Linked DNA regions of Homo sapiens: region 1 is linked to region 2. The links are contacts of gene promoters, found by promoter capture Hi-C in human tissues and cell types (Jung and others, 2019). All regions are on one chromosome and are shown on one strand. The core of a region is centred on a gene start or on the middle of the fragment in contact, and the rest is flanking DNA. Distances in the headings are between cores, read along the strand shown. Region 1 overlaps MINDY3 (MINDY lysine 48 deubiquitinase 3). Region 2 holds the start of TRDMT1 (tRNA aspartic acid methyltransferase 1).

Region 1 (2,700 bases), core at 62-2,561, 1.4 Mb after region 2:
ATTCAGAAAGGGGAGACTAGCACACTTACTCAGCTTAAAGAGAAGCAGTTATCAGGTCTATTCAAAGTGTTCCACATGAGCTTTGGAGAAAGTCCACAGTGTTTATTTTTGTGTGTCTTTTTTGTGGAAGAAAATGTTTGGATATGTGCTTCGTATTCAGGTACATGTTTTATAGGAATTATTGTAAAATGATTGATAAAGATATATTAATATGATCAAAGATACTGGACAACAACAATTCTCTAGTGCCTCTGGATACCAGGAAAATGGCTCCATCCGTTACGCCTCACTAGCTGTGTGATGTTGGACGAGTTCCTACCTCAGTTTTTCATCTGTAAAATGGACTTAAGAGTAACTTTATATGATTAGTCAGCACTCAATACATTAACCATGGTGTTGTTTTTTTAAAAAATGTGTGGCACAGAGCTTATTCCATAACCTCCAAAGACATCAAGGTCTACATAGGTAGTGTCTGAACTGCTAATCACAGGTTTTCACATTATACATAATGAATTTTGTTTTCTTCTTTCTCCTTTATCCCCTCCCCCTTGTACAATTATATGTCAGGAAGCAACACCATTTCTTTTAAATCTGAAGCTGTTTGTTTTGTTAAGTTGCTAAAATATGTTGACAGCCATATTTTGTCTGATTTCAGTGTACTGCATTTTTTTAATCTTTAAGAATAATTGGACTATTGTAGGTAGAGCTTAATATACACCACTCCCTAGGCATTCTCTAGAATTGCCTTGTCTTTTCTGTTCCTTTTAAATAAATGCTCCTCCCTGTGCCCTTGCTGTGGCCTCCCGTCACTGTTAGCACTGTTTCTGTCAGGCATCCCCAGCTAACAGTTTTCTGTATAGTGCCACCATATTTTGTACCTTTTCCATCCCATAATAAAAGTGAATTTGCAGTACAAGCTATAAATGAGCTACTTATTTATGAGCTTGTATCATTAAAAGTAACAAATGTTAACGAGCAGCTATGAGTCAACCACTGTGCTAGGCCCTGGGGATCTGGACTCCCTGCCCTCCAGAACTCATTGCCCACTGGGGAGCCAGAAGTAATGCCAAAGAGGTCTGGAAAAGCTCAGCTCTGGTGTGTGACTTGGCCTTGGGGAAAAGGTCACTTGCTTTTTCAATAGGAATATAGACCTACAATTTAATAAATACTAAGGCTTTATTAAATTCTATTTTTTTTTTAATTCCCAAGAAACTGTAGTCTCCCTCTCCCACAGTGTATGGAAAATGTTAGTCTCAAGTACAGTGGGCTTCACAGTTTCCTTATAAGCTGTTTGTTGCACAACTCTGAGAAACCTTTTTCCAGCTTCTCTGTTAGTTTTGAGTATCCAACATTTGGCTTCTCTTCCTGCAGTGTCCAGTTTAGCTAGTATCTCTGTTAAAATTGAGACCTGCTAGGCTCTCCTGTTTATTTCTTAATCTTTCAGGACAGAAATCCTGATTGTTTTATATTTCCTTTGAAAGCCCAACTCAGGTTTCCTCCCAGTTATGAAATAGTTATCTTATCCAGGAAATTACATGCCTCACTTTCACTGTCCTTCATCAGCGCTCCTTTGCATTGAGTTATTCCTCCCCACAATCTCTAAGGACTTGACACTTTTAGCAATCTGGATATTCAACTGGTAAAAATCTTTTAAAATTTTAAACCAACAGCTTTTTTCCTCCTTTCAGCCACAATCCAACAGCATTACAGTATGTACATGCTAGCCGTTTCCCATCCTGGCTGCTCTGCCCTCTTTTGCTTGCCCTGCCTCATAGTCCCCATTCTTTTGTGTTGATATCTATGTAGTTAATTTACCAGTGTATGCAAGTTCTATTTTTTTCTTTTAGTTCTTCATAGATCTGCTTGACTAATCAAATGGTATTCTCTGAGATTTCCTTTGCTGTTGACTTTGAGGTTGTCTTTTCATCTTTGTGCCTCTGTTTCCTTATTCTCTAGGGAGTCAGTTGGTGAAATGTCAGATGACCTAGGTTTCATCTGTTTTTACACTTAATGATTCTGGCCTTTTTCTAAGGAATTTTTTGTAGGTATGGTTAACATGTCAAAGTAAGTCTTCTACAAAGGAAAATAATTTTGAAATCTCTTCTAATCTTGAGTATATTAAAAGTTTTGAATTATTGAGAAAATTCTATTACATCTTTAGTTTTAAAATACTAAATGTACAAAATGTAGAGTTACTGACCGGGTACAGTTATGGTTACACTTCAGAATATCTGTGCTTATGAGTTGTAAATCTCATAGCTACCTTAAAAATGTTTAAGCTTGAGGTTAATCATATATAAGCATGTTGTTAAGAAGGTCACATTGTTGTTTTTGTTGTCATTTGCCAATTAGCTCTTGGTTGGGGTGGGAACTGAGTTGCAGGTTATGGTTTCTGCGGAAAGGCTGCCAGCCATGACAAAGTACATGCTGTCAGTGCTCCTGAAAAACGGTGTACAGACTGAGCATCCCTCACCCGAAAGGTTGATCCTCCAAAATTTTGAGTGCCAATATGACACCGTGGAGCATTTCAGATTTTGGACCAGATCAGGGATGTTCAGCCATTATATATTTGCAAATATTCATAAACCAGAAAAAATTTGAAATCTAAAACATTTCTAGACCCAGGCATTTTGGATGAGGGAGACTCCACCTGTAATATCAAATGGATATAGCCTATAAACACAGAAACCTAATTGTTCC
Region 2 (2,700 bases), core at 14-2,513:
ACTTTTTGAAATGGCCCTACACAGCCATCTCTTGTGGGGAAAATCTACATTCTATAGAGACTCCCTTTCCCTTTCCAGGTCTTTTCCTGATCCAAGAGATATTTAACTAAGAGTCTGGCATCTTTTTACACATGATAAGAGACATTTGCCAATTATTCTCTCTGAAGCCTGTTACGTATGAGACTTCGTCTACATAATAAGAACCTTGGTCTCCACCTTATCTTAACCCAGACACATTCCTTTCTATTGATTCCAGGTCTTTAGGTCACAACTTAACTCTTTCAACCAACTGCCAATCAGAAAATCTTTGAATCCACCTGTAACCTGGAATCCTTCCCCTTTTTGAGTTGTCCCATCTTTATGGACCAAACTAAGTACACCTTCCATATACCAGTTAATGTCCTTATGTCTCCCTAAAACCATATAATCCCAAGCTGTAGCCCAACCACCTTGGGTACATGTTGTCAGGACCCTGTGGGGTTGTGTCATGGGTCACGGTCCTCACCTTGTGCTCAGAATAAACCTCTTCAAACATTTTACGGAGTTTGGCTTTTTTCGTCAACATGAGCCTCTAACAGTTGGTTACTGGATCATCCTGAGGAATCAAGGCCATAGCACTTAAAGACCCATAAATAATCCTACATGATATTCACTGTGTATTCTATGTAGGTGTAATTTCCAAGCTAAAACATAATTAACCCCACTAATAGACACAACAAACATCCTCTGTATTATCAGCACGCACACAGGGCTTTCTCTGCTGCGAGTGGACTTGTGTCCTTACTTATAATTCTGGAATCTTCTCTAGGGGAGAGGCTGGTCTAATTTCTCTCTATTGACCCAGGGCAGGCAGGAAACAAGGCACACTGTGGAAAGAATGTTTGAATGTTCAGGCTTCTAAGTGACAGAAAAGCAGCTTGTCTGAAAAATGATTTTTTTCTGGCTTCTAACCAGTGTTAATTCACTTGGAAACCAAGGCAGTTTTCTCCCCTTTACTGAACTCTGGATTTCTTTTCCAATCAAGGCCCCTGACACCAAAGAAGGAAATGGAGCGTAAATCAGGCTACAGAGTGGCTGCCATTCATTCGGGAAGCCTTATTGTTTTCCGTCCTTTGTTCCCCTCTAGACCCTTGCCAATCCCCAGGCCGCGAGGCCCTCTGAAGCCCTGAGCCTGGAGCGGTAGGAGACGGGGGAACTGAAACGCCGCGGAACCAGAGGCTGAGGGAGCGGCGCGATGGAGGGAGGAGGAGCGACGGACCGGCAGGCCTAGCTCCGGGGCTGCGGCGGCTGAGGCGCGGGGATGGAGCCCCTGCGGGTGCTGGAGCTATACAGCGGCGTGGGCGGCATGCACCACGCGCTGAGAGGTGAGAGTCCATCTAGCACCCCTCTCTCTATTCGCTCACGGGGGCTGGTTGGAGCACCCGCGCCGGGAAGGGGCGGAGCGGCGAGACGCAAGGGGCGGACACTGTGGGGCGGACACTGTGGGGCGGCCCTCGGTTGTCCTGGAAACAGCTCCTGCGCGCCGCCGTGTCCACCCCTCCAGACGCTGACTCCCTTCTCCTGGCGCCGAGTCTGGCTCGAGGGGCCGCACATGGCGCCTCAAAGGGCCCAGTTGGGAGTCGGGATTCGCAAGGCAGTAAATCAACCTCAAAGGGTATCAAAGGGGCGAGACCCTCGCCTGGTGCCAAGCCCCCATTCTAAGTGTGCAGCCACCGAGAAGCATGGAGACTCGGTCCTTCATCCTGGGGGGCTTCCCAGCTGGGGAGGGAGGGAGTGTCAGGGGCTCCCCTGGTGAGAGATGGATCTTGGAAGGGATAATAGCTACAATTCAAGGTAGAAGTTTGCGAATGCTAAATAGGATGGTAGAGGAAGCTTGAAGAACTTGGACGTCTGATCGTTGGAAAGAAACGTGTCTTCTGTAGTTCTGCGTTTAGATGCCAGAGAACTGAGTTCCAGCTTGGTGGCAGTGTGACGTTGGGCTACTTCGTGAACAGTGATGAACCTGTTTCCTGGTTTTAAAAGAGAATGATTATTATAAGGATTAAAGTCTGTCAAGTGCTTGTTAGTGCCTGATACATTGTAACCACTCCAAATATTATACATTATTATCACTATTACTTTAAAACGACATCACGAGATATTATCAAGCAAACTATTACTTTTATGCACGTCTTTGATTTTGAGGTTTTTGATTTCTTTCATGCTGAGTTGGAACTGAAAGTTTTACTTTTGGTGATATTCACTCAAAATTATTTATTGAGCTCCTATTCTGTGCCAGATTTTGTGCTAGGAGCTGGGGATACAGAATGACAAACAGGCTTTGAAGGTGCATGTTTATTCTTAAATTACTAAGACAACCACCGAACTGAAACTTCCCTGCTTCCTTATTTAGGACCAAGAGTAACAAGAGTAACTGTAAGATACAGACAATATTTAATGGGTTTAGCGTATAAGTTTTTTGAGCAGATTTATTGAGTTTCAATTCTAGACTAGGTTAATGATCATTAAGTTTTTAGTACTTGTTTGCCGGCTATCTTTATTTCTCATTTTAAAACTTAGCAGCATCAAAGCAAAACTCTAGTACTATTTACTCTTTGTTAATTCTCTAAAGTGATATAATGTCCGCGTTTTCCCATATCTTGAAACTCCTTAATGAATTGCTTAGTACTTTATCATAAGCTGTAATTCAGCCATTCCTTA

What was found. The method cuts DNA at HindIII sites, captures the fragments that hold promoters and counts their contacts. A contact is called where the count stands out against the background at its distance.
Region 1: a contact is called between a fragment that was not itself captured here and the fragment with the promoter of TRDMT1 in region 2, in 1 of the 25 tissues and cell types used here (lymphoblastoid cells).

What each region holds. Positions count from the first base shown.
Region 1 is chr10:15,790,607-15,793,306 of GRCh38, reverse strand. The region is part of intron 11 of MINDY3 (MINDY lysine 48 deubiquitinase 3); the gene reads left to right. The region is part of intron 1 of LOC124902383 (a long non-coding RNA gene); the gene reads right to left. Among named protein-coding and RNA genes, the nearest start is that of MINDY3, 69 kb to the left of the region's middle. The HindIII fragment of the contact is 3,404 bases long and covers 1-2,700 here.
Region 2 is chr10:17,200,235-17,202,934 of GRCh38, reverse strand. It overlaps TRDMT1 (tRNA aspartic acid methyltransferase 1), which reads left to right and starts at 1,263. Exons shown (of 11, transcript NM_004412.7): 1 at 1,263-1,364. The coding sequence starts at 1,301. RefSeq lists a silencer at 1,566-1,625. The HindIII fragment of the contact is 10,509 bases long and covers 1-2,700 here.